Regions from separate parts of the Homo sapiens genome. Here regions 2, 3, 4 and 5 are each linked to region 1. Evidence: promoter capture Hi-C in human tissues and cell types (Jung and others, 2019). All regions are on one chromosome and are shown on one strand. Each heading gives the region's core, a stretch centred on a gene start or on the middle of the fragment in contact. The rest is flanking DNA. Distances are from core to core; before and after follow the strand shown. Region 1 holds the start of TNNC1 (troponin C1, slow skeletal and cardiac type). Region 2 overlaps PBRM1 (polybromo 1). Region 3 overlaps PBRM1 (polybromo 1). Region 4 overlaps PBRM1 (polybromo 1). Region 5 holds the start of GLT8D1 (glycosyltransferase 8 domain containing 1).

The links. Contacts are between HindIII fragments. The study calls those that stand out against the background at their distance.
Region 2: a contact is called between a fragment that was not itself captured here and the fragment with the promoter of TNNC1 in region 1, in 2 of the 25 tissues and cell types used here (dorsolateral prefrontal cortex and mesenchymal stem cells).
Region 3: a contact is called between a fragment that was not itself captured here and the fragment with the promoter of TNNC1 in region 1, in 1 of the 25 tissues and cell types used here (dorsolateral prefrontal cortex).
Region 4: a fragment that was not itself captured here is called in contact with the fragment with the promoter of TNNC1 in region 1 in 1 of the 25 tissues and cell types used here (adrenal gland).
Region 5: a contact is called between the fragment with the promoter of GLT8D1 here and the fragment with the promoter of TNNC1 in region 1, in 1 of the 25 tissues and cell types used here (adrenal gland).

The regions. Positions count from the first base shown.
Region 1 is chr3:52,452,079-52,456,217 of GRCh38, forward strand. It overlaps TNNC1 (troponin C1, slow skeletal and cardiac type), which reads right to left and starts at 1,963. Exons shown (of 6, transcript NM_003280.3): 1 at 1,914-1,963; 2 at 405-435; 3 at 28-174. The coding sequence starts at 1,937. It overlaps NISCH (nischarin), which reads left to right and starts at 3,526. Exons shown (of 21, transcript NM_007184.4): 1 at 3,526-3,656. The coding sequence starts at 3,564. RefSeq lists an enhancer at 5-825 and a silencer at 3,451-3,680. The HindIII fragment of the contact is 8,260 bases long and covers 1-4,139 here.
Region 2 is chr3:52,616,506-52,620,611 of GRCh38, forward strand. PBRM1 (polybromo 1) reads right to left here. Exons shown (of 32, transcript NM_001405607.1): 16 at 757-1,033. Among named protein-coding and RNA genes, the nearest start is that of PBRM1, 67 kb to the right of the region's middle. The HindIII fragment of the contact is 4,614 bases long and covers 1-3,885 here.
Region 3 is chr3:52,674,073-52,678,022 of GRCh38, forward strand. All of the region lies in intron 3 of PBRM1 (polybromo 1), which reads right to left. Among named protein-coding and RNA genes, the nearest start is that of PBRM1, 9.9 kb to the right of the region's middle. The HindIII fragment of the contact is 3,085 bases long and covers 576-3,660 here.
Region 4 is chr3:52,651,897-52,656,083 of GRCh38, forward strand. All of the region lies in intron 6 of PBRM1 (polybromo 1), which reads right to left. Among named protein-coding and RNA genes, the nearest start is that of PBRM1, 32 kb to the right of the region's middle. The HindIII fragment of the contact is 3,551 bases long and covers 1-3,490 here.
Region 5 is chr3:52,703,418-52,707,682 of GRCh38, forward strand. It overlaps GLT8D1 (glycosyltransferase 8 domain containing 1), which reads right to left and starts at 2,374. Exons shown (of 10, transcript NM_018446.4): 1 at 2,030-2,374. It overlaps SPCS1 (signal peptidase complex subunit 1), which reads left to right and starts at 2,689. Exons shown (of 4, transcript NM_014041.5): 1 at 2,689-2,865; 2 at 3,227-3,286; 3 at 3,376-3,462. The coding sequence starts at 2,830. RefSeq lists a silencer at 2,101-2,270 and an enhancer at 4,217-4,265. The HindIII fragment of the contact is 20,736 bases long and covers 1-4,265 here.

The DNA.
Region 1 (4,139 bases), core at 713-3,212:
CTGGAGCCTGGGGAGGAGGGGGCTCACCGTCCTCGTCCACCTCATCGATCATCTCCTGCAGCTCCTCAGGGGTGGGGTTCTGGCCCAGCATCCTCATCACCTTGCCCAGCTCCTTGGTGCTGATGCAGCCATCCTCAGCGCCCAGCACGAAGATGTCGAAGGCTGCCTTGAACTCTGTGTTCAGGGGTTGGGGGGCACAGTAGTCAGGGCTCAGCAGCCAGGACCACGGAGGGCCAGAACCCTGGGGCCACCTGCCAACCTGCCCACCTCCCTCGGAGACCTCTCTGAGGGCAGAGCAAGAGGGACCAAGCCTCTGGTCTCTGGCCTGGGGTCCTCTTCTGATAAGGGGTCCCCATGCCAGCCTGGACCCGCTGGTCTCCCACATGTGTGATAGGGATTCTCACCATTTTTCTGCTCTTCTGTCAGCTGCTCTACCTAGAAAGGAAAGGGAATCTCAAGGCTCAGACTCAGGTATAGCTGCTGCTGAGGAAACCAACCCATTCCACAGGTGAGAAGGCTGGAGCTGGAGGAGGCAGGCTATTTCCAGGCCACAGAGTGGAGGTCTCAGTCCTCCCTCCCTGCCCCCAAAGCCCTGACGTGACCCAGCTGGCCTCACTGCGACTGGGCTCAGGGCCAGGGTGACAGGTGGGCACCCCCTTCAGGACCAAGGTGACCCTCAGTAACAATAGTCAGTGACCACTCAATGCCCTTTCGGCCCCTGATGAAACTCAAGCTGGGTGGCCCGAAGGACAGCTGTCCCTCAAGTTGGGATAATAAAACCAGTGTGGAGGCAGGCAAGCCACCCACGGTAACCTGACCAGGGTGGCCACTGGGCTATTTTTAACGAGGAACAAAGTTAAACCTGGTGATTGTTCTGGGGACTTTGGCATGCAGGGGGTGGGGCAGCGTTATCTGGCCCCCTGGCCTGCTAGTGCCGCCTCAGAAGCCAAAATTAGTCCCCAACTCCGCCAGGCCTTGTATGGGCACTGGGTGGAGGGCTGTCCCAACCCCGGCTCCATGGACTCCCACAGGATAAGCAGGCGTGCCCCCAGAGCTGGCTATAGCACTTCCCTGCCCAGGAGTGAGGGAGGCTGAGGGAGGGGTTCCCCTGGGGACAGCTGGCCATGCCAGGATGTCCTTGCTCTGGGGTTGGGGGAGGTCACCACCACCCAGGATAGAATAGCATCTGAAGACCCTCAGTGACCCAGGAGGTTGCAGGGGCTTGGGGTGACCACTCTCCAGCCCTCATTCCCTCGCTCTCACCCCTAGCTAAGCCACTGAGCCCTGAGCCTGCCAGGCATGATGGGAGCTGGGGCCCCAGTTCTCTGTTCCTTCTTCCTTGGTTCTCCCTCATGTCCAGAACTTCCCTGCCTCAAACTTCAAAGCCCCATCTCCAGCCCAGGACTCAGGCTCTACAGACCCCTCCTCTCACACCCTCCACCCTCCAAAGCATCTTCGGCCCGCCAAGGGGCTGGAGTGGGGTGGCAGATTTTGAGCATGTGAGAAGCAGAATGTGAGGGGCAGAAATGGGGGTTGGGGACAGGGAGACAGTAATGGGGACTCAGACAGCTCAGGAGGAAGAGATGAAAAGAGAAAGGCAAAAACGTCCAGAGACAAATGCAGAGACATGTGGCTGAGCGACAGTGCCACAGACCACAGACACTTGGAAACAGAGAGTGAGACACGATGCTGAAAGCTGCAACCTCCTCCACCACCCTTCAGACCCGGAACCCCCTACCCCTTCTGCATCCTCAAACACCAGAATCACTGTCCCTGTGAGGGCCTGGGTTGAAGGCACGTAGGCCTTCTCCTTGGTCCCCACCACTTCCCTGGGGCTACTAACCCCGCACTCTCAGCTGAGTGAGCCCCCAGTGGGCCTGCCCACCCCAGCCCTACCCAGCCCTGTCCCTCACCGCAGCCTTGTAGATGTCATCCATGCTGGCGGCTCACAGGACAGCTTGCTGGGGTTGCCAGCCGGCCCTTGACTTAAATAGCCCTGCCCCGCTGCATTCCTGGCCCAGCCCAGCCCAGCCCAGCCCACCCCTGCGTGTAGTATCCTCCAGCCCCTCCTCTGGTCCCAGTGATCTCAGGCTGGCCTGAGTCCCCACGTCCTCTGCCCAGGGCAGGGAGCAGACGAACGGCTACAAGGACCAGGTTTCTTTCCCTCCTGTCCCCCACACTCCCCAAAGGGACTCTCTGAAAAGGTTTCTGGAATGAATGAAAACATAAGCCCAGTGCAGGACAGGAGCTACAAAGTCGTGGGCCCCAGGCAAGGTGCAACACAACAGCTCAGGCTCCCATCCAACCAGGTTGGCGGGTTGCCATGACCTCCACTTTCCAGATAAGGAAACTGAGGCTCTGGAGGAGTGGTGACTTGCCCAAGATCTGACTGACTTGGTAACCCCCGCCTTTAACTAAACCTCTCTGGAATGGGGGTGCAATGTGCAAGGAGAGGCTAGGAGTGCAGGGCCCTGCCAAGAGAAGCCTCGAATGCCAAGCTCATAGTAAGATGCTGTGGAACTGGTGAAGGAGGAAGTGACTGACCCACCTTAGGACAGGGTGGCCAGGAGCCCTTCTGCCAGAGGAGCCTGTCCCAGACCTCCCATCTGCCCAGGGAGAAGTACCCACTTCGGGCTTAAGTCAGCTGCTCTCAGTTATTCAACAGCACCCCTATAGATGCCCCATCTGTGGCAGGCTCTTTCCCTCCTCACCCTCCAATTAGGTTACCACCTCCCTCTTCTAGGTCTCATCTTTCCCCGGTTTAGGATTCAGCACTGTAGTTCCTGGGTCCAGATCAACCTGTCTCCCTCGTTTTGAACTTTGGCAGGCCACCCCGTGGGGTTCTTGTGCTCAGTGGCAGCACACACCCCTCCATCCACCTACACCTTCCTTCGTACAGAGTTCGTATCAAGTTTATCCCTCTTGATAAACACGCTCCCTGCCTCGAGCACTACTGCGTGCTGGGCCGCGCATCAATCAACCCACTCAGTTGTCCAGAAGCCCCACTGACAAGAGATCTCCGAATCTCAGAGAGGTTCAGAACTGGCCCAGAATCACTCTCGCCCTGCTCCGGCGGTAAGCACAGGTCCTATTTTCCCCTCCAACCTGCCTTGCCCTAAAGAGAAAGAGCCCAACAGCCAGGTGAGGCACTATTATGGCCTCCTTTATCAGGAGGAGTAAACTGAGGCCAGGAAGAGCAGTGACTTGCTTCGTGTGGCCTGGGAGACTCGGGACCTTCTGTCCCCTCTTCCCGAGGACCCAGGGGCGATGCCCAGAGCTGTCACCACCCGGGGTCTCAGTTTCTAGCAGGCTGTGCAGGGTACCGCCGGCGGCGCCACGCAGGTAGATTACGCAAGCGAGCACCTCGCACGCGCGCCCTGAGTGGCCCCTGTCAGTCACGCGCGGGGGCGGGGCGAGGGCGCAGGAAGAAGGCGGGGCCAAGATGGCGGCGCAGCGCGCGGCGGGGGCGACGGGCGGCGGGGGCCGGGGGGCGGTGGGACGTTGACCCCGCCCCCTGCTGCTGCTAGTCTGCGCCGGGCGGCGGTGGCGGCGGAGACCCGAACATGGCGACCGCGCGCACCTTCGGGCCCGAGCGGGAAGCCGAGCCGGCCAAGGAAGCGCGCGTCGTGGGCTCGGAGCTTGTGGACACTTATACGGTGTGTTGGGGGCGCGGGCACCCGAAGCGGGGGTGGTGGCTGGAACCGGGAGTCCGACTCGGGGGCTTGGGGAGGGGTCCGGGATCTGCAGCCCCGAGGAGCGGGTAGAAGGGTCTGCGATTGCGAGGAGGGGGCTGGGACGGGGGATCTAGGAAAGGGATCTGGGCCCCGCAGGTCCGGGAGAAGGGTTGCTCGGGGCCCGGGGAGGCGGTTTGGAAAAGGGTACGCGATCAGAAAGGGAGGCTCGGGTTGGGGGCGGCATCTGGGGATAAAGGGGGCTTGGGGAGGGGGGTGTCTAGATGAGGCGGAACCCCTCTAGATCCTCTAGGACTGGAGGGGCCCCGGCCTGGAAGACCGTTACAGGGGTCCAGGAGGAAGGCGATGGGGAGAGGGTCTCTGATGGATGGAATCAGGGAAAAGGGTCAGGCTTCGCAGGCCTTGAAGAAAGAGAAGGCGTCAGGACCCTGATCTGGGGAGCCTGAG
Region 2 (4,106 bases), core at 329-2,828, 160 kb after region 1:
ACATGGTGAAACCCCATCTCTACTAAAAGTACAAAAAATTAGCTGGGCGTGGTGGTGGGCACCTGTAGTCCCAGCTACTCGGGAGGCTGAGGCAGGAGAATGGCATGAACCCGGGAGGCGGAGCTTGCAGTGAGCTGAGATGGCGCCACTGCACTCCAGCCTGGGCGACAGAGCGAGACTCCGTCTCAAAAAAAAATCAAGATGCTCTGTAGCAAAATCAATTAAATAAATTATTTAGAGGTACATTTATGGGACTATCATGCTGATTTTTATATAATTATACATTTTCTATATAGGCTGTCTTTGGAGAAGTATGGTCGTTGAGGATCGTAGTAATGATGATGATGAAAGATTTTAATACTATTGGCTTTCCTTTGAGTGCTTATTCAGTACCAGGCACTCTGCTAAATGCTCAGTATACATTATCTCTTTTAAATCCTACAACAACCCTGATGCAAGTACTATTATTAGCCCTAATTTATAGATGAAGAAATTGAGGCTCAGGAAGGATAAATTACTTACACAGGGACTGGCAGAGCAAAATTCAAATCTAGGATGTCAGATTACAAAGTAGGAACGTTTATCTTTATAATGTACTGCCTCTGATTGTAAACAATGAAGAAAAATCAATTAACCTAGTCACCAAAAAGAATAATCTAAGTTAAGCCTCTAGAGCTGGTCTCTCAAAATGCATTATTCTATAAGTACCCCTCTCCCGCAAAATGTGCCTACTTCAGGACCGCTGGCCCTCCTTACCTGGGAGCCCTCCTCATTATAGTGCCTGGCATTCCGGAACATCAGCTTCATGTCTTCTATCATTCCCTCTTCACCAGCATATTTGTCATTGCGGATGTTATGCTCAATTATTTTCAAGTCCATTGGCTCCAAGATGATTTTATAATAATCAGGATAGTCCTTTTTGGATGGTTTAACCATAAATAGGTCACAAAGTCTTCTGCCTGAACCTGGCTCTCGAGCTTCAAGAACAACATTGAATAAGATTTTCATTCGCTGCTTTCTTATGTTCTTTTTACTGTTGAGGGGGAGGTAGAAAAGGGGAAAAATTAGAATAGGTTCAGTTTTCTTAATATACGGATGACCACAAAATAAAACAAATTATTTATGGTGCTTTATAATGATTACAATTTATTGATTACATATGCCACAAACACAGTAACCATGCTGGAAGTTATAAGCAAATATTAGGAAAATTTCCAAAATAGTTAAAACACAGTAATTCTGGCAGGAGCAGTTAATGAACACCAAAAAAACTTTTTAGATATGTCATGAAATGCAATGTTTGAAATAAGATCCTCTCTGATACCAAAAGAAAATGAAATTATATAGTCAACTGAGATATATTTTTTGTTTAAAGATGAGTACAGCCAAAGTGCAATAAAACTAGCAATTCTCTACGGTTATAATATCCTCACTTCCAAGTACAAAAACAAAACAAAATAAAAAACCTAAAAAGAGAAGTGTTTCATCTCTTAAGACAAGTACTCCTGAACACTTGTGTATTTTGGTTGTCTGAAAACAAAAGGAGACTGCCAGACTAGTGTCTTTACAGTGGGTATGAGCCTCTCTTGCATTGATTCTGTCAGGGTCGTCCTTGCTTTCTCCATCAGCATTATTCCACAGTTCCAACCTACTTTAAAGAATAAGCGGTGTGGTTAATCTGAGTTTTCTAGAGTAAAATTTCCATCCTTGAGCATGAATCCGTCTTGTTCTCCAAATTCCCCCAGTGAGATGTGATGCTGAGAAGCTGATTTAAGCAGTATGGAACAAAGCATAAGGGACTATAGATTAGATCCAGAGTTCAAAAGGGCTCCAAGAGAGCAGATGGTCTATCTCTTAATTGCTGAGAAAACTGGCTCAGAGGGGGTAAAAGACTTGCCCAAGGTAAGTTTCCTAGTAAATTATTAGAAGCAATGATCTTCCGATATGGCTTCCGGTTAACTATTCTTATGTACTCAGGGCACGGCTAAAGAAATTCTAGCCAGATAAAGAAATTCTAGTCAGACTAACCAGCAGTCTCCAAGTGAACAGTGAAGTAGGTAATAACAAGAAATGACTTATGACTTAGTTTTTTTTTTTTTTTTTTTTGAGATGGAGTTCCGCTCTTGTTGCCCAGGCTTGTGTGCAATGGCACGATCTCAGCTCACCGCAACCTCTGCCTCCTGGGTTCAAGCGATTCTCCTGCCTCAGCCTTCCAAGTAGCTGGGATTACAGGCGCCTGCCACGACGCCCTGCTTTTTTTTTTGAGATGGAGTTTCACTCTTGTTGCCCAGGCTGGAGTGCAACGGTGTGATCTCTGCTCACCGCAACCTTCGCCTCCTGGGTTCAAGCAATTCTCTTGCCTCAGCCTCCCGAGTAGCTAGGATTACAGGCATGCACCACCACGCTTGGCTAATTTTGTATTTTTCGTAGACAGGGTTTCTCCATGTTGGTCAGGCTAGTCTCGAACTCCCGACCTCAGGTGATCCGCCTGCCTCGGCCTCCCAAAGTGCTGGGATTACAGACTTGAGCCATCGGGCTCGGCTGTGCCCGGCTAATTTTTGTATTTTTAGTAGAGACGGGGTTTCACCATGTTAGCCAGGCTGGTCTCAAACTCCTGACCTCAGGTGATCCGCCCACCTTGGCCTCCCAAAGTGTTGGGATTACAGGCGTGAGCCACTGCGCCTGGCCAACTTAATTTCTATTAAAAAAATATTTACTAAGGTCCTATAGTATAGTCATCCCTTGGTATTCATGGGGAATTGGTTTCAGGATCTCCCTTGTATACCGAAATACATAGATGCTCAAGTCCCTGATACAAAATGGTGTAGTATTTGCAAATAACATGTGCACATCCTCCTGTATACTTCAAATCATCTCTAAATTACTTATAATACCTAATACATTAAAAATGCTATATAGTTGTTTTGTTACACTGTATTGCTTAGGACATGACAGAAAAAAAGTCTGTACATGTACAGTAAAGATGCAATTAAAAAATTTTTTTTTCTATCCATAGTTGGTTGAATCCCTGGATGTGGAAGCCATGGATACAGAGGGCCAACTGTACTTAGAGGTAAATATTTTGTATCTGTTCCCTATCCTTTAGGTGGAAGAAAGTTCATTCCTCAGGCAAACTATATGTGGCTGTATAGGTCTTCTGGTCCAGTCCCCTGACTACTTGCACTACTCCTGGGTCATGAAGAAGCCAAAGGCCAGATCTTTTCTCTCCAAGGTTCAAAATACACTTTTTTAAAACACAGAAAGAAAAATCAAGAATTAACAGTTGAGAAAATAAACATCTATCCTTAAGATTTTTAGGCTTTTCAGAAATGCCTATAACTCAAGGCAAACAAAGTGATTTAATTAGGAAAAAAACAGACAAGAGCCTGTTTCCTGCTAGAGTTGGGATCATCCTCATAACTTGTGTCTTCACTCTGACTGCTTATTTCCTGCTCATTGTGGACCTCAGACAATTCCTGCCATTTTCTCCCCTCAGCACTTTTTTTTCTGTTAGATAAGTTTGTTAGATGATGGCAAAACGTTTGTTAGATATTTTACCTAGTGGAAACTCCTTCTCCAAGGAGACATCCTGGGGCAATGATGTGACAGGAAGAGTTCTCTCATTCTAAGTCTTCGGCAAGTGGATAATACAAGGGAAGTTAGGACAAAGCTCCAATACCACAGAGCTCCACATCTGGGCACAGATTAGAACACAGATGACTTTAACCTTCAGGAAGTCTCTAAAGAAAAATTTCAGAACCTGACTTTGAAGTCAGATGTGGTTTGATTAGATCTCGCATGTGGGGTGGACTTTAAAAGGAAGACAGAGGAATTCAATTCTGAAGCTCTAAGCTTACAGGATCTCTCCAATAAACAGGACAGGATGAAATTAGTCCTCATTCTAGCAATTTCAAGAAGCTTAACAGTTCAGTCAAGGCCCTGACCTGGACCAGGAGGTGCTCACCCCATTCCCATCTGGGTTTCAGCACACTAAGCCCAATTATCATTAGGTTTTTCTGTATGAAGCTGCAAATACTCTCAGATGGGAGTAAATCTAGGGCAGATTTTTATAAGAGGAGAGAAAGTTTTTAATTAAATTTTGCCAG
Region 3 (3,950 bases), core at 868-3,367, 220 kb after region 1:
TATATATATAGAATGCAGATAAACGAAATTAGAGAATAGAAAAACAATTTTAAAAATTAAACAGTTGGTTTTTTTAAAAGATCAACAAAATTGGTAAACACTTAGCTAGATTAACTAAGAAAGAAAGAGCTGAGCACGGTGGCTCACGCCTGTAATGCCAGCACTTTGGAAGGCCAAGGTAGGCGGATCACCTAAGGTCGGGAGTTTGAGACCAGCCTGACCAACATAGAGAAACCCTGTCTCTACTAAAAATACAAAATTAGCTGGGCGTGGTGGCCCATGCCTGTAATCCCAGCTACTCGGGAAGCTGGGGCAGGAGAATCGCTTGAACCTGGGAAACGGAGGTTGTGGTGAGCCACAATCGAGATCGCACCACTGCACTCCAGCCTGGTGCGAAACTCCATCTCAAAAAAAAAAAAAAAAAAGAGAGAGAGAGGCTGGGTGTGGTGGCTCACACTTGTGATCCTAGCACTTCGGGAGGCCAAGGTAGGAGGATCACTTGAGCCCAGGAGTTTGAGACCAGCCTGGGCAACACAGGGAAACCCTGTCTCTACCAAAAAAAAAAAAAAAAATATATATATATATATATATATACACACACACACACACATATATCTCCTTACCTAACATTACATACGTTATTTTTTAATATGTATGTAGCGTTAGGTAAGAATCCAGCATATTTTTACATATATAAATAAAAAATACGTTATATATACAATATATATATTTTATGTGTTTACTATATACATACACACGTATATATAACATATATATTAGCCAGGTATGGTAGCATCAGGTGAGAGGACTGCTTGAGTCCGGGAGGTTGAGTCTGCACTGAACTGTGATTGCCACTGCACTCCAGCCTGGGTGCCAAAGCAAGATCCTGTCTCAAAAAAAGACAGAAAGGAGGAGGGAGGGAGGGAAGAAGTAAGGGAGAAAAGAGATGCAAATAACTAAAATCATAAAGAGGAGACATTACAACCAATGCCACAAAAATAAAAAGGATTATGAGAGTTCTAGGAAAACATGTATGCCAACAAATTAGATAAACTAGAAGAAATGGATAATTTCCTAGAAACACACAACCTACTAAAGACATACAAAGCCTGAGTAAACCTATAACTAGTAAGGAGACTGAATCAGTAATAAAAAATCTCCCACAAAGAAAATCCCTAGACTGATAGCTTCACTGATGAATTCTAACCAGACATTTCAAGAACTAACACACCAAGCCTTATGAAACTTTTCCAAAAAATTGAAGAGGCGAGGTCACGTCCTAACTTATTCTATGAAGCTAGCATTACTCTGATACCAAAGCCAGACAAAGATACTACAAGAAAACTACTGATCAATATCCCTTATGAATACTGATGCAAAATTTCTCAATAAAATATTAGCAAACTGAATTCAGCAGGATATTAAAAGGATTATATACCATAACCAGGTGGGATTTATTCCACAGTGAACAAGGTGTTGAAGTGGTGAAAGTGGGCATCTCTGTCTTGTTCGTGATCTTAGAGGAAAAGCTTTAAGTATTTTGCCACTGAATATGTTGTTCACAGTAATCAAAATGTGTGCTACTGGTATAAAAACAGACACAGGGACCAATGGAATAGAATGGAGCCTAGAAACGACCCTCACATACACGGTCAAGCAAATTTTGACAAAGGCGCCAAAACCATTCAATGAGAAAAGCACAGTCTTTTCAACAAACGATACCGGGAAAACTGGATACACACATATAAAGAATGAAGCGGGGGCCGGGCGCGGTGGCTCACGCCTGTAATCCCAGCACTTTGGGAGGCCGAGGCGGGCGGATCACGAGGTCAGGAGATCGAGACCATCCCGGCTAAAATGGTGAAACCCCGTCTCTACTAAAAATACAAAAAATTAGCCGGGCGTAGTGGCGGGCGCCTGTAGTCCCAGCTACTTGGGAGGCTGAGGCGGGAGAATGGCGTGAACCCGGGAGGCGGAGCTTGCAGTGAGCCGAGATCCCGCCACTGCACTCCAGCCTGGGCGACAGAGCGAGACTCCGTCTCAAAAAAAAAAAAAAAAAAAAAAAAAAAAAAAAAAAAAATAATGAATGAAGCGGGATCCTTACCTAAACACTACTTATAAAAATTCAAAATGGATCAAAGGCCTAAATGTAAGAGCTAAAACTATAAAACTCTTAGAGGAAAACCAATACAGTTTGGCTGTATCCCCATTCAAATCTCAGCTTGAATTGTTATCTCCTAGAATTCCCACATGTTGTGGGAGGGACCCAGAGGGAGGTAACTGAATCATGGAGGCCAGTCTTTCCCGTGCTATTCTCGTGATAGTGATTAAGTTGCATGAGATCTGATGGGTTTATTAGGGGTTCCCACTTTTGCTTCTTGCTTATTTTTCTCTTGCCACTGATGTAAGAAGTGCCTTTCACCTCCCACCATGATTCTGAGGCCTCCCCAGCCATATGGAACTGTAAGTTCAGTTAAACCTCTTTTTCTTCCCAGTCTCGGGTATGTCTTTATCAGCAGTGTGAAAACCAACTGATACAGTAAATTGATACCAGTAGAGTTGGGCGCTGCTGAAAAGATACCCGAAAATGTGGAAGCGACTTTGGAACTGGATAACAGGCAGAGGATGCAACAGTTTGGAGGGCTCAGAAGAAGACAGGAAAATGTGGGAGTTTGGAACTTCCTAGAGACTTGAATGGCTTTGACCAAAAGCCTGATAACAATACGGACAATAAGGTCCAGGCTGAGGTGGTCTCAGATGGAGATGAGGAACTTGCTGGGAATTGGAGTAAAGGTGACTTTTGTTATGTTTTAGCAAAGAGACTGGGGCATTTCGCCCCTGCTCTAGAGATCTGTGGAAGTTTGAACTTGAGAAAGATGATTTAGGGTATCTGGCAGAAGAAACTTCTAAGCAGCAAAGCATTCAAGAGGTGAGTTGGGTACTGTTTAAGGCATTCAGTTTTATAAGGGAAGCAGAGCATAAAAGTTTGGAAAATTTGCAGCCTAGTCCTGTCCAAGAGAACCCTGATTAATACAAAAACATAGGGGAAAAGCTTCATGATATTGGATTTGGCATTAATTTCATGGATATGACACCAAAGGCACAGGCAACAAGAGAAAAAGACAACATAAACTTCATGAAAATTAAAACCTTTTGTACATCTAAGGACACCGTACAAAATGAAAAGGCAACCTACAGAATGGCTCTATCACCCAGGCTGGAATACAGTGGCGGGATCTCAGCTCACTGCAACCTCTGCCTCCCAGGTTCAAGCAATTCTCCTGCCTCAGCCTCCCAAGTAGCTGGGATTACAGGCGCCCCACCACCATGCTCGGCTTTTTTTTTTTTTTTTTTTTTGAGATGGAGTTTCACTCTTGTCACCAAGGCTGGAGTGCAACGGTACGATCTCGGCTCACTGCAACCTCCACCTCCCGGGTTCAAGTGATTCTCCTGCCTCAGTCTCCCAAGTAGCTGGGATTACAGGCGCCCACCACCAAGCCTGGCTAATTTTTGTATTTTTAGTAGAGACGGGGTTTCACCACGTTGGCCAGGCTGGTCTCAAACTGCTGACCTCAGCTGATCCACCCGCCTTCGCCTCCCAAAGTGCTAGGATTACAGGAATGAGCCATTGCGCCCAGCCTTGCACCTGGCTAATTTTTGTATTTTTTAGTAGAGACAGGGTTTTGCCATGTTGGCCAGGCTGGTCTCGAACTCCTGGCCTCAGGTGATTTGCCCACCTATAGACCTCCCAAAGTGGTGGGATTACAGGCGTGAGCCACTGTGCCTGGTCAGTACTCTTTTTTAAATATTTATTTTTAGGCAAGCTCTTGCTCCATCACCCAGGTTGGAGTGCAGTGACACTCATGGCTTACTGCAGCCTCAAATTCCCAGGCTCAAACAATCCTACCACCCCAGCCTCCCTAGTAGCTGGGTCTATAGGTGAGCACCAC
Region 4 (4,187 bases), core at 465-2,964, 200 kb after region 1:
CAAACAACCAGTGAAGCAGCTTTGTGAGATTCAAGACTAAAGACATGGCTGTACAGCACATTTATTATATCAGAACCATAAAGAATTTAATCTTAAGAAGCTTCATGATCTATCCAACAGCATGACTTAGGAGTTAAAACTTGGTATTTTGAGTGTTATTATGCAACTAGCATAAAATTTAATGTTTTAAAAAATTCTAGGCTGGGGCCGGGTGCGGTAGCTCACGCCTGCAATCCCAGCACTTTGGGAGGCCGAGGCAGGTGGATCACCTGAGGTCAGGAGTTCAAGACCAGCCTGGCCAACATGGTGAAACCCCATCTCTACTAAAAATACAAAAATTAGCCGGGCGTGGTGGCAGGCACCTGTAATCCCAGCTACTCAGGAGGCTGAGGCAAGAGGATCGCTTGAACCTGGGAGGCAGAGATTGCAGTGAGCTGAGATCGTGCCATTATACTCCAGCCTGGGGGACAAGAAAGAGACTTCGTCTCAAAAAAAAAAAAAAAAATTCTAGGCAGGGCACGGTGGCTCACACCTGTAATCCCAGAACTTTGGGAGGCCGAGGCGGGTGGTTCACGAGGTCAGGAGATTGAGACCATCCTGGCTAACGTGGTGAAACCCTGTCTCTACTAAAAATAGAAAAAAAATTGGCTGGGCATGGTGGCATACAACTATAGTCCCAGCTACTCTGGAGGCTGAGGGAGGAGAATCGCTTGAACCCAAGAGGCAGAGGTTGCAGCGAGCCGAGATCATGCCACTGCACTCCAGCCTGGGCGGCACAGCAAGACTCCATCTCAAAAAAAAAATAAATAATCTAAATTCGGCAAGGCGCGGTGGCTCACACCTGTAATCCCAGCACTTCGGGATGCTGAGGCAGCTGGATCACTTGAGGTCAGAAGTTCAAGACCAACCTGGCCAACATAGCGAAACCCTGTCTCCATTAAAAATACAAAAATTAGCCAGGCATGGTGGTGTGCGCCTGTAATCCCAGCTACTCAGGAGGCTAAGGCAGGGCAATCACTTGAGCGCAGGAGATGGAGGTTGCAGTGAGCCGAGATCACGCCATTGTACTCCAGCCTGTGCAACAGAGCAAGATTCCGTCTCAAAAAACAAACAAAAATTCTAAATTCACAGAATTATACAATTTTTCATTTAAGGTCCCAAGATATCTATGCCTAGAAATAAAGTAGAAGAAATGCTCTTTAGGAGTTTGTTACAAGCTCTTTTAATTTTGCAATCTAAATAACGTTATTATATAATATTCACATAAACTTTCATAAGGATCTGTAAGAAGTCAGGTTGCAAAATTTGTTAGCTTCATGTTTAACTTGATGCTTCTGCTTATTTCAGTCAAAGTAAGTTTTTTCAAAACAAAATACCTTTTGAATGAAACTTTGTTAAAGAAATGAAGCACGGCTGGGCATGGTGGCTCGCGCCTGTAATCCCAGCACTTTGGGAGGCTGAGGTGGGTGGATCACCTGAAGTCAGGAGTTCGAGACTAGCCTGGCCAACATGGTGAAACCCCATCTCTACTAAAAATTCAAAATTAGCCTGGTATGTTGGTGCATGCATGTAATCCCAGCTACTTGGGAGGCTGAGGCAGGAGAATCGCTTGAACCTGGGAGGTGGAGGTTGCAGTGAGCTGAGATTGCTCCATTGCACTCCAGCCTGGGCAAGAAGAGCAGAATTCTGTCTCAAAAAAAAAAAAAAGAAAGAAAGAAATGAAGCAAAATTCTGGTCAGGCATGGTGGCTCATGCCTGTAATCCCTGCACTTCGGGAGGCCGAGACGGGCAGATCACGAGGTCAGGAGTTCAAGACCAGCCTGGCCAATATGGTGAAACCCCGTCTCTACTAAAAATACAAAAATTAGCTGGGTGTGGTGGCGGGTGCCTGTAATTCCAGCTACTCAGGAGGCTGAGGCAGGAGAATCGCTTGAACCTGGGAGGCAGAGGTTGCAGTGGGCTGAGATCACGCCACTGCACTCCAGCCTGGGTGACAGAGCAAGACTGTCTTGAAAAAAGAAAAGAAATGAAGCAAAATTATTAGCAACTTCTGATTTATCAAATACTAGGTCATCCCAAGAAATTGAACATGTTGAGGAATGTCCTTGAAGCTTTCACAACAACCTAGAATCACTCACTGCACTCAGGCTTTCCTACAGATTTTCTTCCTTGGAGGAAATAACTGAAGTTGCCCAAATATCAAAAGTTGGTCTTATCAGATGGGAGAGGTTCAGGGGAAGTCAGATTGTGCTCTCCCAACTCTTCCCACCTGTTCAAACCCTACTGAAGCCCACGCAGCAACAACAAAAGCAGAAAGCCACAGCCTTCACTCAGTTACTGGGCTGAACAGATTATCTCAGTGTTGTTTTATCTCATCTGTCCCCTAAGCTTACCACTACTTTCTTAACCCTACTCCTTCCTTTACTTGGATGAATCTCCATTGCTGCCCCTTCTCTTCACCAGTTCTACTTCTGAGAGAAAGTTCAGAGGACAAATTATGGCAAGGCCACCCAGCATGGAGTACAAAGTAATTCAAAGTCATCCAATCCCACAAATTCCCAATCTATCTCTCCCATGCAGCCAGCTTGCTTGGGACGGACTTACTAAGGAAAGGTGAAAACTGTCCTGCCCCTTCAGCTGTCAATCCTTGTTGTCTTTCAAACTGTCACACCCTGAGAGACCAATAGAAACCTGCTTTTCCCAACCAGCTCCTTCAAGGTGACCTTGAAGGGGGAATGGGGGGAACTAATTATTGATGTTTCATTGCCCCATATCACTGTTGTTGATTTGACCATCACTGATTATCTCCTGCAGGGTAAGAATAAATCTTGAGCGAAGACAGTACTTCTATTTTGTGTGTATGTGTGCATGTGTGAATGAGAGTTGACAGAGAGCGAGAGAGAGAAAAAGAGACGGGGTCTCTTTCTGTTGCCTAGGTTGGAGTGAAGTGGCATGATCACAGCTCACTGCGGCCTTGAACTCCTAGGCTCAAGTGATCCTCCAAACTCAGCCCCACCAAACAGCTGTGACTACAGGTGCACACCACCATGACTAGCTAATTAAAAAAATTTTTTTTGTAGAGACAGAGTCTCAGCTATGTTGGCCTCTCAAAGCTCTGGGATTACAGGTGTGGGTCACTACACCTATCCTGTACTTCTTTTATAATTTTTTTTACTGTAATAAAATAAATTTCATGTAGTAACATGAAATTTGCCATTTTTAAGTGTACAGTTCTGTGGCATGAGGTACACTCACACTGCTGTGCAACTATCACTGACATCCACCTCCAGAACTTTTTAATCTTGCAAAATGGAAACTCTGTACATATTAAACAACTCCCCATTCCCTCCAGCCCCTGGCAACCACCATTCTAACTTTATGTCTCTAAGATTTTGAGTATTCTAGGTACCTCATATAAGAAATCATACAGTATTTGTCCTTTTGTGACTGGCTCATTTTGCTTAAAATAATGTCTTTAGAGTTCATCCATGTAGGATGTTTCAGAATTTCCTTCCTTTTTAACGCCAAATAATATGCCACTGTATGTATATGTCACATATACATTCATTCACTGATGGACACCTGAGTTGCTTCCATTTTTAGCTATTGTGAATAATGCTGCTATGAATATGGGTATACAAATATCTCTTCAATACCCTGCTTTCACTTTCTTTGGAGTATATATCTAAAGTGGAACTGCTGGATCATATGGTAATTCCATGTTTAATTCTCTAGAGAATCATCATACTGTTTTCTCCTTTTCTTAAAGTTTTAAGTCATATGACCAATATTAATAATTACATCTTTCTAGTAAGATTCACACATAGGACAGCAGTGGTCAGTTGCTTTATTTCTAATGTTGTAACTATCCTATAGCTAGTCAAGACACACCTTTAAATAACTATAGTCTTGCCAATGACTGATGAGGAAAGCTGCATGCTACTCATCAGTCAACAAGCATCTTGCATATCTATGACCACCCAGCATGGGGTACAAAGTAATCCAAAGTCATCCAATCCTTCGGATCGGGTTCCAGTTATAGACAGTAATACAAAGGTAAATTACAGCACAGTCACTGTCCTCAAGAAATTCAGGGAGTAGAAAAGAAGGCAGACAGAAAAGTAAATGATCACAATAGGGCTAAGTGCTACCATGGAGTACTTCTGAAAGTATATCCTTACCTAGAA
Region 5 (4,265 bases), core at 1,124-3,623, 250 kb after region 1:
TGTCTCAAAAAAAAAAAAAAAAAAAGAGAAGTATATACATCAGTATATACCCTAAGTCATATGCCTCTATCACATTATGGGCTGACCTTATCTACAGAAGCTGGCAGAGGGGAGCTGTTCGGACAAAGCCCCAACATCTGCCTGCGATGAGGCAACTTCCACCACCACTGAGAAAACGATCTTGCACTCAAATAAATCCCACTTAATTAATGGTACAAGAGATAATGTTTTTAGTTTCTTGACTTCCAGTTAGCAGTTACGGGATCAAGAGGCACACTTGGCTGGAAACAAGAAAAACACAATTCTATCAAGTATCTGACATACTTAAGTAGACTGGCAAGGCAGAAACCAGTTGCTCCTAAAACTTCCACAGTTACCTACATGCAAAACGCCAGTTATCATGGAGTACGTCTAATCCATATTGTCTTTCCTGGGGCTATTCCTGGTAAGAGAGCTTTCCTGATCTGGTTAGAAGGAATTCTCAAAACGAAATTGCACACAGACGCTGGATCTGTAATAGTTAACTACATTTTCGTAAGAGTATATAATTGTGTACAATTTGATTAGCAACACAGTTGGTCCTCAGTATCAGTCGGGGATTGGCTCCAGGACTCCCCATGTATACAAAAATTCACGGATGCTCAAGTCCCTTATGTAAAATGGCATATTACAGTCAGCCCTCTGTATCTGTAATTTCAGTCCGTGGTTGGTTGAATCCAAGGATACAAAACTGTGGATACAAAAAAAAAAGACCGCACTGGCCGGGCGCGGTGGCTCATGCCTGTAATCCCAGCACTTTGGAAGGCCGAGGTGGGTGGATCACTTGAGGTCAGGCGTTTGAGACTAGTCTGGCCAACACAGTGAAACCCCGTCTCCACTAAAATCACAAAAATTAGCCGGGCGTGGTGGCGCATGCCTGTAATCCCAGCTACTCAGAAGGCTGAGGCAGGACAATCCCTTGAACCCAGGAGGCGGAGGTTGCAGTGAGCCGCGATCGCACCACTGCACTCCAGCCTGGGCAACAGAGCGAGTCTTCGCCTCAAAAAAAAAAAAAAAAAAAAAAAAAGACCACACAGAGATATATCTATTTATACACACAACAGAAAGTCTCTTCAAACACACCAAGAAATACAGAGCATGAGAAGGAAACAGGAATAAACTCTTGCCCATCCCTCTTTCTGCCTTCTACACGTCCTGAGTCCTTCTGAGGTCAGAAAAGTGTCAAACGTGTCTGCATTTTACTGTTTGGTCTCTGCCACGTGCAAGGATGAAAGGGCACTGAGGATATACAAACACTTTCTCCTACCCTTTCATCTGGCTGGCTCCCACTTGGCATTCAAAGGTCAAGGTAGCCTCCTCCAAACTCCACGTTGAGCTGCACCTCCCCTGAGCTCCCACATCTGGGCCTCCCTCTCCCAGGGCTAATCCAGCTGTCATGTATTTCTGGCGTGATGTGGCTGTCTCCCTTGACACGCTCTGGGCTCTTCCAAGGCAACAGCCTGGTCTTGGTAACAACCGTGTCCTCGGTCTGCTGTCTGGCACAAACAAGGTGCCGTGAATATTTGCTGGTTGCATGAATGAGGACAGCAGTCCCACCCTGTCCCGGGAGTGCCTAGAATTCCACTGTTTGTGGCCAACCCAGAATACATAACCTGGGGGCCGGAGAGCCAGCTGGGACCCAGAGGCCCGGGTTCCTCAGAACGGTTTCTCTCCAAAACGTGGGCATCCCACCTGGCTGACGGTAACGGAGGAGGGTCTAAGATTTAGAGATACACCAGCCTTGAAAGAGAGGCTGAGTGAACCTTTGGCTGGCCTCTATCGGGAGGGCCCAGCCTGGGTCTGTGAGGGTCAGTAAAGCCGGCCACAATGTGAGAGGGCTGAGTTCGGGAGCCCCCAGATGAGGGACTTTCTACGCGGATGAGAGGGACAGCCGAGCACCAGGGTCCCCTCTCCAAGGGAATTCTCTCTGTTGTGGATGCCGCCTAGGGTAGCCCCCCTAAATTCCAAGGGTCAGTAGGGCCCCCCTTACACTTTGAAGTGATCGGAAAGTGATGTGACGCTCCGGGGATCCCACCAGGCTCAGAGATACCCCTGGTTAGGGCTCCGACAAGTCGTTCCCCTCAAAGGCTCGCCGCGGCCGCCCTTACTGCAGGCGATGGAGGAGATGCGGATGCAGCCCGCGCCCCGACCCGCCCTGCCAGCTCAGCGCCCGCGCCGCAGGCCCCGGAGCCCAGCCCGTTGTCTGGCCGCCCGCGTTCCCTGCACGCTGGGCCGAGCACACTTGCCCTCTAGCTCCGTGGCAGCCGCGCAGCCCCACTACGCCCAGCCAGCCCGCAGCGGTAACCGCTAGAGCGTCGCGCCAAGCAGGCGCCGCGGGGCAGCCCTGCCGCCGGGGTCCTCGCAGGGAAAAAGGCCGTCGCCATGGAGACGCGGGGGCGCCGGCGGCCGTTGGGCCGCGCAAGTACTGTCAAGGACAGTTTTCGGGACGGGGGACGCGGCTCCAGGCACCCAACAGCACTGACGGCGAACACTTCACGGGCGCGCGATGCCTCGACAAGGCGGCCGCCACCACCACCTCAGCTGCCCTCGCGGGCAGCACGGCGCGGCAAAAGCGCACGTCGCCTAGCGATGGCGCGGGGCGGGGACACGGGCTGTACCGGCCCGTCGGAGACTTCCGCTTCCGGGGCCGCCGCCATCGCTCTCCCGGGCTTAGAAGGCCCGGCTACTGACGCGCAGTGCCAGACCTTACCCCTCACGGTCCTTAAGTCTCGGTCGCCCTCGCCTCGCAGCCTGCCACCCGCGCTCAGCTGCCCGCCTCCTCAGCCAGCCATGCTGGAGCATCTGAGCTCGCTGCCCACGCAGATGGTGAGGGCGCAACCCGGGGACCTCTGCACGCCGTTCTTGTGCCTGGCAGCTTCGAAGCCCATGTTGGAGCACCGACCCGGTGCTGCGCTGTTCCGGGCCCGGATGGTTACCGTCCACCCTCTTTCCCGAATTGCCTCCTGGGTCCCCTTCTCTTCTACTCCGCGAGAATCTCCTGTCCATTCTCCGTGAGGGTGTTTCAGTTCCTCCCGGGAAGCCCAGAATTTAATATCTTGCCCAGGCCCTTAGGAGAGCGGGAGACCCTGATGTTGGGGTTACCCTGTGCCAGAGTTGTGAGGTCAGGGCAGGAATTGTATGTTCTCGGCGGTGGAACCAATTCTTTTTTTCCTCTGCTTCACCCCAGGATTACAAGGGCCAGAAGCTAGCTGAACAGATGTTTCAGGGAATTATTCTTTTTTCTGCAGTAAGTATTGGTTTTACATTTAATCTCCGCCCCCGCCTCCCTCCCAACCCTCAGTTTGAGTGTGTTTAATATACTTCATTTGTCTCTAGATAGTTGGATTTATCTACGGGTACGTGGCTGAACAGTTCGGGTGGACTGTCTATATAGTTATGGCCGGATTTGCTTTTTCATGTTTGGTAAGAAATTTGTGGGTATTAGTGGCAGCTTGGGTTTTGTGAGTCGGGTTGGTTTGGTTAGACCTACTCAGTAGTGAGACCCAAAGCCAACGTTTCCCTCATCCTTCCAAACAGCGTTTCCCTTTGCTATCATTGGAAAAGTAGAATGCCAAAATAGTGTCAGATGGTGCGAACTATATAAAAGGACACAGCTTATTTCCTTTGGCGGCTACTCTGGCTAATAATCTTAAGGTCAAAGCCAGCAGGAGTTTTCATGGTGCTCACGTTGTCCCTTCACCTTTTATTTATTTATTTATTTAAATTTTTTGAGACGGAGTTTCACTCTTGTTGCCCAGGCTGCAGTGCACTGGGGCGATTTCGGCTCACTGCACCTTCTGCCTCCCGGGTTTAATAGATTTTCCTGCCTCAGCCTCCCGAGTAGCTGTGACTACAGGAGCCCACCACCACACCCAGCTAATTTTTGTATTTTTAGTAAAGACAGGGCTTCACTGTGTTGGCCAGGCTGGTCTCAAGCAATCCGCCCACCTTGGCCTCCCAGAGTGCTTGGATTACAGGCGAGAGCCACCACGCCTGGCCCCCACCTTTCTTTTAGGTCTTAAAGCCATTTGTATAGGCAGTGAGCCTGTTCCCATCATCATACAGTATTTTGCATGGATGGTGGCACAGAGCCTTTATAGGAATATGGATTTTTTTTTTTGTTTTTTTGTTCCCTCAGCATAGGAGTCATTTGGGAACCTGGCATTATACGTAATGATTTTTTAAACTTTTAATAGCTATAATTTATGCATTTCCTCTTTTCTGGC